5 separate regions of the Homo sapiens genome follow, and all the other regions are linked to region 1. Evidence: promoter capture Hi-C in human tissues and cell types (Jung and others, 2019). All regions are on one chromosome and are shown on one strand. Each heading gives the region's core, a stretch centred on a gene start or on the middle of the fragment in contact. The rest is flanking DNA. Distances are from core to core; before and after follow the strand shown. Region 1 holds the start of FAM171A2 (family with sequence similarity 171 member A2). Region 2 has its middle 37 kb from the start of LINC01180. Region 3 has its middle 27 kb from the start of FZD2. Region 4 has its middle 6.8 kb from the start of FZD2. Region 5 holds the start of GPATCH8 (G-patch domain containing 8).

Evidence for each region. The method cuts DNA at HindIII sites, captures the fragments that hold promoters and counts their contacts. A contact is called where the count stands out against the background at its distance.
Region 2: a fragment that was not itself captured here is called in contact with the fragment with the promoter of FAM171A2 in region 1 in 3 of the 25 tissues and cell types used here (mesendoderm cells, neural progenitor cells and ovary).
Region 3: a contact is called between a fragment that was not itself captured here and the fragment with the promoter of FAM171A2 in region 1, in 2 of the 25 tissues and cell types used here (IMR-90 fibroblasts and lymphoblastoid cells).
Region 4: a fragment that was not itself captured here is called in contact with the fragment with the promoter of FAM171A2 in region 1 in 1 of the 25 tissues and cell types used here (dorsolateral prefrontal cortex).
Region 5: the fragment with the promoter of GPATCH8 here is called in contact with the fragment with the promoter of FAM171A2 in region 1 in 5 of the 25 tissues and cell types used here (IMR-90 fibroblasts, heart right ventricle, lymphoblastoid cells and 2 more).

The regions. Positions count from the first base shown.
Region 1 is chr17:44,362,431-44,365,186 of GRCh38, reverse strand. It overlaps FAM171A2 (family with sequence similarity 171 member A2), which reads left to right and starts at 1,334. Exons shown (of 8, transcript NM_198475.3): 1 at 1,334-1,590. The coding sequence starts at 1,473. It also overlaps the pseudogene RPL7L1P5. RefSeq lists a silencer at 1,243-1,622. The HindIII fragment of the contact is 16,504 bases long and covers 1-2,756 here.
Region 2 is chr17:44,611,712-44,614,467 of GRCh38, reverse strand. No RefSeq gene overlaps it. Among named protein-coding and RNA genes, the nearest start is that of LINC01180, 37 kb to the left of the region's middle. The HindIII fragment of the contact is 8,739 bases long and covers 1-2,756 here.
Region 3 is chr17:44,583,169-44,585,924 of GRCh38, reverse strand. No RefSeq gene overlaps it. Among named protein-coding and RNA genes, the nearest start is that of FZD2, 27 kb to the right of the region's middle. The HindIII fragment of the contact is 5,837 bases long and covers 1-2,756 here.
Region 4 is chr17:44,549,342-44,552,097 of GRCh38, reverse strand. No RefSeq gene overlaps it. Among named protein-coding and RNA genes, the nearest start is that of FZD2, 6.8 kb to the left of the region's middle. The HindIII fragment of the contact is 6,889 bases long and covers 1-2,756 here.
Region 5 is chr17:44,502,061-44,504,816 of GRCh38, reverse strand. GPATCH8 (G-patch domain containing 8) reads left to right here and starts at 1,411. Exons shown (of 8, transcript NM_001002909.4): 1 at 1,411-1,491. The coding sequence starts at 1,447. RefSeq lists a silencer at 1,128-1,477 and an enhancer at 1,578-1,677. The HindIII fragment of the contact is 22,919 bases long and covers 1-2,756 here.

The sequences.
Region 1 (2,756 bases), core at 85-2,584:
ATGAAATTGCCGTCCCAGGGAAGCATTTCCAGGAGGTCTCATGGTTGTTACGCCCTTTCTACCTCTCAGTGGCCCGTCATGCTACCAAAAATACAGTGGGCTTCCTCAAGGAGATGGGCACACCTGGCTATCAGGGTGAACGCATCAGTCAGCTCATCCGCCAGCTGAACTAGACCCAGGTGCCAAACTGCAGTAAATTTTTATTAATGAAGTGGAAGCATGGGTAGTAGAAGCATGTGTTTTTGTTTTTTTGGGAATTTTTATCAAGTATCTTCAGAGAAGATTATTTCCAGCTTTATCTTCAAAAACTGGAAAGGAAGGGTCAAAGAAAAGACAGAAGCTCACGCCTGTAATCCCAGCACTTTGGGAGGCCGAGGCGGGTAGATCACTTGAGATCAGGAGTTCGAGACCAGCCTGGCCAACATAGTGAAACGCTGTCTCTACTAAAAATACAAAAATTAGCCGGGCATGGTGGCGTGCACCTGTAGTCCCAGCTACTTGGGAGGCTGAGGCAGGAGAATCACTTGAACCCGGGAGGCAGAGGTTGCAGTGAGCCAAGATCACGCCACTGCACTCCAGCCTGGGCAACAGAGCAAGACTCTCTCTCAAAAAAAAAAAAAAAAAAAAAAAGAAGGAGAAGAAACAGTAGCTTATGTTCATGGCAAGCACCTCTAATCACAGTCCAGTTTCCAAGGAAAAATTCCAGCGTTTTAGTTTAATGTCGGTAAGTGAGTAACTCTAGCATTTGTACAAGGCTCCCTAAGACTCCTGCACCAGTCGGCCAAGCCCAGGGACATAATTGAATTTGGAGATTCTTGGGGCCTTGTTTTGAAAAAGACTTGAAATAGGAAGAAAGGCCCAAAAATAAATGTTCACTTGTCTCTGAAAAAAAAAAATCTGTCTCAAAAAAAAAAAAAAGAGAGACTTAGGGGGGTCTAGGGGGCCTTCCCTGCTATCACCCCAGCACTGCCTAGGTGTTCTACCGGGAGAAGGGGGCCATCGAGCAGGGAGTTCTTACAGTTTTCTGAGACTTTCATGACCGTACCCCTTGAGAGTGTTGTAGGCAATATCCACTCCCCACCTACACACACACAAATTTTGCACCAAATTTTGGGGACTCTCGAAACCCAAGAACCCGGGTGATGGGACCCTAATCCCGACACTCCTTTGCAGCGCAGAGTCTGGGAGCGCAGAGCGCGGGGGCTGCGGGGTGGGCTGAAGGTGGGCAGTACCGGGGGGCGGCGGGCGGAGCGGGGCCGGGAGGGGGCGGTGCCGGAGGGCCAGCGGTGTGGCGCGCCGCCTGCAGGGGGCGCTTGCGGCGGCTCCGGTCGGAGACAATCGCGCTGAGCGGGCGCCGCAGCGGGAGCGGGAGCCGGAGCTGCGAGGCGCGGCGCAGAGCTGGGGCTGCGCGGGGCCGGGCGAGCGGGACCAGGCGGGAGCCATGGACCGCTAGGGCCCGGCCTAGCCCCGCGATGCCGCCGGCGAGTGGCCCCAGCGTCCTCGCGCGGCTGTTGCCGCTGCTGGGGCTGCTGCTCGGCAGCGCCTCCCGGGCTCCCGGCAAGTCGCCGCCGGAGCCCCCCAGCCCGCAGGGTGAGTCTCAGCCGGGAGGGGCCGCGATCGCGGGCCTGCGCCCCCTGATCAGGCTCCCGCCCGTCAGCCCCCTCTTCGCGGCGTTCGTGAATTGAGTGGTATTCTGTTCCCTGGATTCGGGTGGGGGGAGCTAAGCGATCTGGGGTTGGCGCTTCTGGGGGAAAGTGGAGGCGGGGAGAGGGAGGCCGTCCGGGGCGGGGGTCTTGGGGAGACACAATGGGTAGTGCGAGGGTCCCCAGGATCTGCGCCGCCGCCCTCTCCCTATTTGTTTTTCTCCCTCCTGGTCCGCGAGGCGCTGCTGCCTGAGCCATTGTCTACCGAAGACACCCGCCCAGGGGCGGGCTGGGGCGGGCGCCTGCTCCGCAGCCCCCTGCGGGTTGCTCGCTCCCGACCCTGGCGGGGTGGGGGCGCCGGCATCCGCTGCCACCCTAGGCCGGGACCGGAGGCTGGGAGCCTGGAGCTGGGTTTGAAGGGGGGAGGGGAGAAGGGGGAGTGGGTGAGGCTGTGGGCGGGATTGACTGCTCTAATGGGGTTCTTTGCCCTGGAGCCTGACAGCTCCCAGCCAGCCCCCCTGGTTTAGAGTTTGGGGTGCACCAAATAAATGCTTGTGAGCCTATGATGGAGGACGAGCCGCAGTTGTGGGCCTCTAAGAAAAGGGGGTACATTGTGATTCCCAGCTGAGGGAGCATGGCAGGCTTGTGGTCGTGGAGCCATGCTGAGCTAGCTGGCTGTGGGCAGTGCCGGCTGGGAGGGCAGGTGCCTGGGTCCCCCCCCATTCAGCAGGCCTCCTGGCATTCCTGTCCCCTGCCCGCCCCCATATCACCCCCTCCTCATCTCACATCTTCGCAGTGGAGGAGACCCTTCCCAGCGACTCACCGGGCGCAGGTGGGTGTGTGAGGTGGGGGTGGGGCCGGCTCCTGCAGCAGGAAAGGGTGGGGGAGCAAGACCCTGACAACACATCCCACAGGCAGGCCTGGACGCTTGGGGGCCTCCGCCCACTCCAGTCCTGAGTCCACCTCCCGGGTCCTGCTCTCCCTCTCCTGCCTGTGGGCCCCATCCCTGCCTGAAGCAGTATTCACTCCTCACCCCCCACACTAAGGAGCTGGCAGGAAAAGCAGAGTGGGGGGGTCTGGATGAGGGAAGTGGGGTCCGGATGAAGGGAGGGG
Region 2 (2,756 bases), core at 188-2,687, 250 kb before region 1:
TCCAGCCTAGGTGACAGAGTGAGACCCTGTCTAAAACAAACAAACAAAAAGACGGTAGAATGTGATGAGCAGAATGCTAGAAAAGTCAAGGGCACTATGGGAACTTGTAGAAGAGACTTCAAACCCCAACTTTATGGACCATGAAATACTTCCTGGAGGAAACACCTGAGCCGAGACCTGAAGAATAAATAGAGTGTTGTGAGCAGTCACCTGTACAAAAGCTGCAAGCAAGAGAGAATTTGTACTTTCAAGGAAATGCAAGAAATTCAGAGAAGTTCGGCTCGACTGGAACATAGAGCGCAAAATTGAGAAGAGTGCCTGCAGGGCCAGGCGCGGCAGATCTTGAAAGGTATCTAAGCTCCATTGAGAGTCTAGATTTTATCCTGGGAGCCATGGACCATCACTGAGGAGTTTCCAGTAGAAGAGTGACACAGTGAGGATCTGGTTTATTTTATTTATTATTAAATTTGATTTTGAGTCAATTGTTTTGTGTGTGGGGGGTTTTGTTTTGTTTTGTTTTTTCAGACAGGGTCTCACTCTGTTGCCCCAGGCTGGAGTGCAGTGATGTACTGCTCACTGCAGCCTTGACCTCCTGGGCTCAGGTGATCCTCCCCCCTCAGCCCCCACCCTCCCTCCACCATGTAGCTGGGACACCACCACCATGGCCAGCTAATTAAAAAAAAATTGTGTAAGGCTGGGTGCGGTGGCTTATGCCTGTAATCCCAGCTACTCGGGAGGCTGAGGCATGAGAATTACTTGAACCCGGGAGGCAGAGGTTGCAGTAAGCCAAGATTGTGCCACTGCACTCCAGCCTCGGTGACAGAGCAAGACCCTGTCTCCAAAAATAAAATAAAATAAAATTACGTAAATAATTTTTTTTTTTTTTTGTAGAGACAGGGTCTCCCTGTGTTGCCCAAGTTGGTCTCAAACTCCGGGGGCTCAAACGATGCTCCTGCCTCGGCTTCTCAAAGTGCTGGGATTACAGGTGTGAGCAACTGCACCAGGCCCTAAAAGTCATTTTAGTTTTTGCAAAGGTACACACATGGTACAAAAGAGCACATATTAAAGCACAAATCCCCCTGACTTTCCTGTCCCCGGCCATCCAGCACCCCACAGGTGTAGCCTTTGGAATGCTCATTTTGGCTGCAAGTTGAAAAGCAACATGGTATTGAAGCAAGAGTGAAAACAGGAGACCCTTTAGGAAGCCGTTGAGCATTCTGGATAACAGCGGATGGTAGTGACTGTGAGAATGATTTTACACTCTAGGAGGCCAAGGCGGGTGGATCACTTGAGGTCAGGGGTTCAATACCAGCCTGGCCAACATGGTGAAACCCCGTCTCTACTAAAAAAAAAAAAACCTACAAAAATTAGCCAGGCATGGTGGCACGCCTCTGTAATCCCAGCTACTCAGGAGGCTGAAGCAGGAGAATTGCTTGAACCCGGGAGGTGGAGTTTGCAGTGAGCCGAAATCGCCCCACTGCACTCCAGCTTGGGAAACAGAGCGAGACTCTGTCTCAAAAAACAAACAAACAAACAAACAAAACAAAAAGAAAAGGAAAAGAAAAGAAAATAAATAGAAAAGAAAAGAAAAAGAATGATTTGAGAGACATGGAGGAGGCATCAATAACAGAACCTGGGGACTGATTGGACATGGGGTATAGGAGAAGAAGAAGGACGACACTCCAGAGAGGAGATAGTGCTTCAGTGTGCCAAGGAGGAACAAAAGGGGAGCCAAGTTAGGGGGATGGCGGGGTGGTCCGCGAAGATGGGCCACCAGCAATGCCGTCCCCTCATGCGCATGCTGCTCCGTTAGTGCATTTTCTGTCTCCTTAAATCCAGGGTGGAGCCGGGCACCTGATTACATGCCTGTAATCCCAGCATTTTGGGAGGCCAAGGCGGGTAGATCACTTGGGTTCAGGAGTTTGAGACCAGCCTGGCCAACATGGTGAACCCCATCTCTACAAAAAATACGAAAAATGACAAAATCCAACAAAAAGTACATCTCTACAAAAAATATGAAAAATGAGCCAGACGTGGTAGTGAACACCTGTAATCTCAGCTACTCGGGAGGCTGAGGCATGAGAGTGGCTTGAACCCAGGAGGCAGAGGTTGCAGCAAGCCAAGTGCGCCACTGCACTCCAGCCTGGGTGACAGAGTGAGACTCTGACTTAATAAATCAATCAATCCAGGGTGGCCTGTGATTTGCTCTGACCAATGGTGGCAGCAACACTGATGCCCTGACAGGTGAGGTCTAGGTCTTTTTTTTTTTTTTTTTTTTTTTTTGGAGACAGGTCTCTGTCACTCAGGCTGGAGTGTAGTGGTGTGATCATAGCTCCCTGTAACCTCCGCCTCCCAGGCTCAAGTGATTCTCCCACCTCAGCCTCCTGAGTAGCTGGGTCTACAGGCCTGTGCCACTACACCTGGCTAATTTTTCTTTCTTTTCTTTTCTTTTTTTTTTTGAGACAGGGTTTTGCCATGTTGCCCAGGCTGGTCTCAAACTCCTGGCCTCAAGTGTTCCTTCCACCTGGCCTCCCAAAGTGTTGCGATTACAGGCGTGAGCCATCGCGCCCAACCTGAGGTCTAGGTCTTAAGAGACCTGACAACTTCTACTTCTTCCCTGTTGGAAGCCAGTCACCATGTAAAGAGGTCTGGCCACCCTGGAGGAGAGGGAGCTATAGGGAAAGAGAGCGAGGGAGAAGCACCAGAGGATGAGAGACTATGAAGGAAAAGAGAGAGCCCCAACCAGCCCCCTTCTC
Region 3 (2,756 bases), core at 103-2,602, 220 kb before region 1:
AGAGACCAGGGCCACAGAAGAGATGGCTTTTGATTTCTCCCTTTTCTGGCGCATTCATTCCAAGAACTCAAAGTGAACAAATGTTCCGGCCAGACACGTAACCATGGTACCTACCTCAGGAAAAGAGCAAACGGGACAGTTTCATCCCAAGCCTAGAACACAGGTCCCCATTGATCTCTGTGGTGTTTGTGTCGGCTGGGGGATGGGACATAGGGTGGGGTTCAGGGCTGACCTCATCTCCTGACTTTAGAGGGGAGGCTGTGAGTTAAAAGGAGAGCCCTCATAGGGAAGGACTTGAAGGGGTGGCAGCAGCGGTTGCAGTGACAGGTTCCAAACTCTTCCCATTTCTCATACTCAAAGCAGAAAGAGGAGGTGGCAGCAGGGGAGGAGTCTCCAATTTCAGAGTGACTCAGATCAGACGATTGGCTGATACTGATCAGCGGTAGACAGTGCATAGATGACAGACACCTGTTTGGCTCTCCAGCGCTCACTGGGGTGGGGCAGGAACGAGGATGCAAGATAGAGGGGACTTGAGACATGAGAGGTGGAGAAACGAAGCCTGAGTGGGAGCCAGGCCAGGAAAGATCATCCCCTGAGACGTGGGATGAGCAGGCAGCTGTGGGCCAGTTACCTTTGAGAAAGACCCTGAAGGATATGGGAAATTTATATATATATATATATATATATATATATATATATATATATAATTTTTATTTTTTAGACAGAGTCTTGCTCTGTCTCCCAGGCTGAAGTGCAGTGGGGAAATCTCGGCTGACTATAACCTCCGCCTCCTGGGTTCAAGCGATTCTCCTGCCTCAGCCTCCTGAGTAGCTGGGATTATAGGCTTCCACCACCATGCCCGGCTAATTTTTGTATTTTTAGTAGAGACAGGGTTTCACCATGTTGGCCAGGCTGGTCTTGAACTCCTGACCTCAAAGTGATCCATCTGCCTCAGCCTCCCACAGTGCTGGGATTATAGGCGTGAGCCACCATGCCCGGCCTATATTTTTCTTAAAAAGAAAAACCTCATTATTCTTACTTTCTAAACAAAGCATGGCTGGGAAAAGAGAGAGAGAGGAGGGCATCCGCCATGGCAGAGGAGCAGGGGTACATGTTCTGGGCAGAGAAAGGACGACTGGGGCGAAGGCGCAGGGTGGGAACGTGGGCACACGGGGAAACACTGAGTCAGTCTGGAGCGTGAGGTAGTGGAAAAAGGGACTGGGAATGTAGACCAGAGCCATATCACGGAGGCCCTTAAATTCCAAGCTAAGGAATTTGCACTTCATTTAGTAGGCCACGGGGAACCTCTACAAGTGACTGGATTAAAAGCGCGCTTTAGGAGGAAAATTTCAGGCTGTGGATGAACTGCAGGTCTCATTACATTAGTTAAGCTGCCAAAGAAAGATGTGGGCTCCTTCAGGTTGCCGTTCTTGGGAACTGGAACCGGGAAGAGAGTCATTCAAAGTTCCCAGGTGTTGATTCTGCCCTTATTCTGAGGAGGCCTCAATAAGGTGTGAGCCTCAGGTTGATCACAGGTTTATGAAGCAGGCAGGTGAGCAAGCAGTTACTCTGCCTGGTGGGCCAGGACTCCCTCCTGTCAAGGTGAAGTGCTCTGCACTGCAAAGAAACCTGCAAAGGTTTCCCACACAGAAGGGAACAGGAACCCTAGCTTTTTCTTGGTCTTACTTTAATCTAAAAGCGCTGCTAGCAAACACATTTTATGTTTAGCTGGCACCTAATCTGAGGAAGTTTCAACCTGCCAGTCATGAAGCAAACAACATCCGCTGAACACAGCCAAGTGTCCAGCTACCTGCTCTTTGTCCACCATCCTGACACCACAGAGGGGTTAGGATGAGAAGACCGAAGCACTGAGTGGCCCACTGGACTGAGTGACTCTGGGAAGCCCTTGGACTCAGGGGTAACTCTGACCACAAGACAAATGTGCCTGGGCCAGGTGCAGTGGCTCACACCCATAATCCCAACACCTTGGGAGGCCAAGGTAGGAGGATGGCTTGAGCCCAGGAGGTCGAGGTTGCATGAGCTATGATTGTGGCACTGCATTCCAACCTAGGTGAGAGAGTGAGACCCTGTCTCTAGAAAAACAAACAAACAAACAAACAAAAAAAACCTGTGCCCCATCCCTCAGCTTTGCTTAATTGGGTTGCAGAAATTATTATTGAGAAACAAAGAAAAGGTAAAAACAAGAACAAACAGACAAAAACAAAAAACAAAAAAAAACACATTCTCCTCACTCCTAACCCTCTACAAGAGGTCAAGTGAGGTCACCCCTCCTTGACTTGCTGAGGATGGCCAAGCCATGAAAATGGCTTCCTAACGGATGCAACAAGGCAAGACAGTACAGGGCAGGCAGGAAATGACACAGTGAGTTGGACCAGGGACAGATGGAGGAGTTTACCCCAACACAGTGCCTGGAGGTACCTGCTAATTATTTATGCATTGTATTAATGAATCTCAGAAATCAGGAAGCACTTATTATAAGAGAAATGCAATCAAATCTGCAGTGAGGGCTGGGTGCAGTGGCTCACGCCTGTAATCCCAGCACTTTGGGAGGCTGAGGCGGGCGGATCATGAGGTCAGGAGATCGAGACCATCCTGGCTAACACTGTGAAACCCCGTCTCTACTAAAAATACCAAAAAAATTAGCCAGGCGTGGTGGTGGGTGCCTGTAGTCCCAGCTACCAGGAGGCTAAGGCAGGAGAATGGCATGAACCCGGGAGGCGGAGCTTGCAGTGAGC
Region 4 (2,756 bases), core at 173-2,672, 190 kb before region 1:
CCTGGTCCTATGGCACATCCAAGAGAAGGTGTCCAGAAGGCAGGCGAATAATCTAACTCAGTGCTCAGGTCAGAACTCTGGGCTAGATTTAGATCTGGCACCTTCAGCCTATGTCTGATGGTATGAGCATGGCTAAGATCACCTAGGGAAGATGGATAGGGTGGGAAGGCCAAAGCTTTGGGGATGTCAACATTTAAAGGCCCTGGGGCCAATAAGGAAGGAGACTGAGAAGAGGTGTTTGGGCCAGCAGAGATTCTAGCCAACATGAGGATGTCACAAGGTTTGTTTCTTCTGGGTCTGAGAGCTTCAAGTCAGGTTTTTGTTTTCTTTCTTTGTTTTTGTTTTTGAGACAGGGTCTTGCTCCATTGCCCAGGCTGGAGTGCAGTGGCTCGATCTCACTCATTGCAACCTCTGCCTCCCTGGTTCAAGGGATTCTCCTTCCTTGAGTAGTTGGGATTACAGGTGTCCACCACCATGCCCAGCTAATTTTTTTTTTTTTTTGAGATGGAGTCTCGCTCTGTCCCCCAGGCTGGAGTGCAGTGGCTCCATCTCAGCTCACTGCAAGCTCCGCCTCCTGGATTCACGCCATTCTCCTGCCTCAGCCTCCTGAATAGCTGGGACTACAGGTGCCCACCACCATGCCCGGCTAATTTTTTTGTATTTTTAGTAGAAATGGGGTTTCACCATGTTAGCCAGGATGGTCTCGATCTCCTGACCTCGTGATCCGCCCGCCTCAGCCTCCCAAAGTGCTAGGATTACAGGCGTAAGCCACCATGCCCGGCTAATTTTTGTATTTTCAGTAGAGACAGGGTTTCACCATGTTGGCCAGGTTGGTCTTGAACTCCTGACCTCAAGTGATCTGCCCACCTCAGCCTCCCAAAGTGCTGGGATAACAGGTGTGAGCCACCGCACCTGGCCCAGAATTTTTATTTTTCTTATTTCAGTTGTGAGAATTAAATGAGACAGCATATGACACTCACTATGACCTGGTGCTAGACTAAAAGCTTGGTAATAGTAGCTATTATTTTATCCAATAAATTATTGAGCATCTACTACATGCAAAGCAGATAGTCTGCAGAGACTCAGCCTCCAGCTTCAGGGAGCCTACAGTCTAGGGGGCCACATTCTGCTATCGCTCCCTAAGGAACATTTCTCTTTAGTCTTGGGCTTCTGCTGTGGGCTGGGAGCCTAGGTGTCCCCAGTGCACAGAAGTGCCACTTCTCCCCCAAACCCCGAAGTACCACTGTTAATCGTGTCTGCTTACAAATCTGACATCTAGGACCAGGTGGAGTGGTTCACACCTGTAATCCTAGCACTTTAGGAGGCTAAGGTGGGAGAATTGCTTGAGCCAGCCTAGGCAAGATAGCCAGGCCCTATCTCTACAGAAAATTTTAAAATTAGTCTGGTGTGGTAGCATGCACCTGTAGTCGCAGCTACTCAGGAGGCTGAAGCGGGTGGATCACTTGAGCCCAGAAGTTTGAGGCTGCATAAGCTGTGATCACCCCACCGCACTCCAGCCTGGACAACAGAGTGAGAACCCATCTCAAAAAACAAACAAACAAAAAAAAAACCAAATCTGATATCTGGGATAATTGTTGGGTACCTACTGTAAATCTGCTGCAGGGTCCATTCCCCCGTTCTGTAGGATGGGCTTGGCAGGAGCAGAAATCTCAACCTAACAGGAGAGCAGAGAAAATAGCTGTTGGAGTGGAAAGAAACCTGGTCTGGGGCTCCAAATGTCTGGGCTGCAGGCCTGGCTCCAGCCCCACTGGCCCAGTAGCTTAGGCAAGTCACCATCCCTTCCTTAGCTGCAGCTTTTTCATCAGTAGAAAGGGATCATAAAACAATTTATTGATTTTACCCTTGAGCCAGATGTAGGAGGCTGTGAGAATATGATGCTTGGATCATTGAAACTCTCCTTGCTTCATGCCACCCAAACAAGATGAAAGACTTGTGTGTCACAGATAAGTGAAATGACAGTCAGCAACATCCAACACACACAGGCATGCTCAGGAGAGGAGAGCACGGAGAACTTCTCCCCGCTAAGGAAACCTGGGGAGATTGCCTAGGGCTCCCACTCCCCGCAAAATATCCTCCTGTCTCTGGCCTTTCACCTTCCCCCGTCACAGTTTAGGTAATCACACATGTCCAGGTCTCCTTGCACGTTTTCCTCTAGAGCCCTTGCTTTCCAGAGAAGCTGTCCCCTCTGTCCTTGAGGGCTAATCTAAGGGACAATGCCTGGTATGGTGACTCCCGAGGGAATTCCCCCTGCTCCAATGAGCCTGCCAGAGGACAGGTCCCCTCTTTGTTTCCTCAATTCTGGGTCAGTGTTCTTTCCTTTTCAAAGCACTGAGGTCCCTCCACCCTAAAGAGGGAAGGGCTATGTGTATCTGTTTAGGAGACAGAGATCAAGGAGGAGGACTTAATTTCAGATACTTTAGGAGCCTCAATGGTTTTATTCTCTAAGCAAAAATGTTCTGCTCTAAACGGGGTGGGTCCTAGATACTTTGTGGAAAACAGGTCTGAGCATTCAGAGAATCAGTCTCCTTGGCTCCCCTCTCCCCTGACCCACACAATATGCCTCTGCTTTAGGTGAATTCACCTTTCCTCCTCTCTCCCTGAACCTGTCCATCAAGACCTTGAATCCACCTTCAGGTGAGGTATCAAATTCCTTCTCCCTGCACTCCATCCTCCATTTAGATCTCAGGGAAATGACCCTTAGAAATGGGCCACAGACCGGGCACAGTAGTAATCCC
Region 5 (2,756 bases), core at 162-2,661, 140 kb before region 1:
GGAGAATGGCGTGAACCCGGAAGGCGGAGCTTGCAGTGAGCCGAGATCGCGCCACTGCACTCCAGCCTGGGCGACAGAGTGAGACTCCTTTTCAAAAAAAAAAAAAAACAAATGAGCTGGGCTTAGTGGTGGGCGCCTGTAATCCCAGCTACTAGGGTGGCTGAGGCAGGAGAATCTCTTGAACCTGGGAGGCGGAGGTTGCAGTGAGCCGAGATTGCGCCACTGTACTCCGGCGACAGTGCGAGACTCCGTCTCAAAAAAAAAAAAAAAAAAAGAATACAATGTTTGAATTCTGTGTGCCCTGCCTCCCCTTAGATGGAAGCGTAGGCTGAAGCATGGGTGGGGCAAAGGGTAACAGCTAGAAAATACACACCCTTCCTCAAAAAATTACATTCCATTTGACTCTTTCAGGGCAGGGTAAGACCCATTTTTCCATTGTGTGATTTCTGTCAACTACTCTTTTCAAAAGGAGAGAAGTCCTGCCACCCTTCTATGTGTTTTATGTATTTTGGCTAAGAGTCCTGGAGCACTGGGTGAGGTCCTCAGAAGGGATGGAAAAATCCGATTCTTGACTCTCATAGTCAGCGCTAGGCAGGAGCATCAGAGATTACTGAATCCAATTTCCCTATTGTATAAAAAGGAAACTGAAGCCCAGAGAGCTTTAGTCGATCTGGATCAACTTCGGTCCCTTGTGAAATACTTCTCTCAAAGGATGGCTCGAAGTCAAGCTCCTTGCAGTCTTTGGGCCTTTGGGTCTAACGTTCCCTATGCCCCAATGCTGTAGGCTCCTCGCTGTGCCTCGGTCAAAGGTCCTTTCAGAGACTGTCCCTCTCAGCACTGTGGCCAGTTTTACTTTTTTGTGGCACTTGTTGATATTTAAAAATATTTATTTTACGAGTTATGTGAGTTCTTCCACTGGAATGAAATCCCCATAAGAGGAGATCATTCCTGTCTCGTTCACCGTTGAATCCTCAGGGTGAGCTGAGATTCGAAGCTAAGCAGTCTGGCTCTAAGGTCGCGCTTTCGGCCCAACATTATGCTGCTATTTAGTGAAGACGATGGACTTCTGCGCACACGGGGAAGCAACAGTGAGAAAAGACACCCGGAAGTGAGCAACAGCAAAACATCCAGATTTGTCCGCACGGTGCCCCCTCTGACCTTTCCCTCCGGAAGCTCTCGCGGCTCTCGGGCGGGAGTGCGCACGCGCGGCCACCGGGGTCGCTCCGGGTCGCGCGCGGAGCAGGGGCTAGAGGGAAGGGTCAGCCTCCAGGGCTGGCAGGCGCCTGCGCCGCGGGGCTCCCGTCAGGACGCGCATTCTCGCTCCCTCCCTCGGCTGCGCGCGCCCGGTGGGCGTGGGAGGAGGCGGGGAACCGGGGAGGGGTGGGTGTCGCAGGAGGGAAGGAGCGAACCGGAGAGCGTCGTCCTGAGAGGAGTGAAGGCGGCAAAATGGCGGACCGCTTCTCCCGCTTCAACGAAGACCGAGACTTTCAGGTAAACACGGGCGTCGCCGAGGATGCGGGGAAGGCGCTGGTCTAGCCCAGAACCTCCTTCATCTCCGGCTCCCAGCCCTCTTTCCTTCCAGTTTTGCTCCGACTTGCGAACCAGCTCGCTCTTCTCCCGTCTCTGCTTTCTCAAGAGGCCTCCCGGCTTGAGGGAGGCCGCATCTCCTCGCACCCGCATTCTCTTACCCCTGAAACTCAGGCCGCGGGGCTTGCGGCTTCCGCCTGTTTGGCATCGGATTTCGGAACCGGGCCTGAGCGCCGTGTGAGGGGCTGTGCCCTCCAGGTCTGCCCGATCTGTGCCGGCGAAGGGCTGGCTCCCAGGGGACAAGAGGGGTGGTTGGGTTGGGCTGAGAGGGCTTGGGGGAGAGTATTGCTGAGGCCAAGGCTTCCGAACCCCGGGATTTTGCTCTCACGGATCCTTTTGGGGTCCTTCTCTTTTCTTTCTTCACTGTGATAAATCAATTCCTTTCATTGTCTGCTTTTCCTCTTCCTTACCTGGGAAAAGGTTGCCTTCGCTATCAGACGCCTTATTGGTTAGTCATACATTGAGATTTCGCGGGGCATAAGTGTTGCTGTTATTAGGCTGTTAATTGGGCTTGGAAAGCAGTAAGTTACTGGACTATGATCCGATGTGAGCCTAACCTCAAATCCTATCTCGAAAGATTTGTGAGAAGCGTGATGATAATAGGCCGTCCACGCATGGGGTCACTAGTGCCAAAAGCTTGATTTTTCTTTCTTCAATTGCAAATGTTAGTATGGAAAAATGCCCTTACGATGGCAAGCTCTATTGAGTAAAAAATAAAGGCCAAATTAGAATAACTTGTTTTTTCGCTGTTGAAAATACCTTTCTGTTGAAATTGTTACCGCGGAAATCTCGAAGACTAAAAGGGATTTAGTAGAGATTGGCTATTTCTAGGTAAAATACATCCGTAGAGTCTCAAAAAAAAAAAAAAAACACTGCATTACTACCGCATATCCTGGCAACTGCAATTTGGGTCGGGATGAATCTCAGAACTCAAGTTTTTATCCCGCTGCAGATCCTACTCAAAGCAGTACGAAAGCACTCTAGATGTGTTTCAGAAGGCAGTTTAAAGAGTTTGAATTCCCTGAGATGATAGGATTGGTAAATAAATAGGTAAAGCAGTTTAACAATTTTAACTCAGCACTGTTAACAGTCTAGTACATAGAACGCTTATGAGAAGTTTTGCAGCAGTAAGGGATCTGGGGGCTGTTAAAAAGCCTTGTGATCATGCG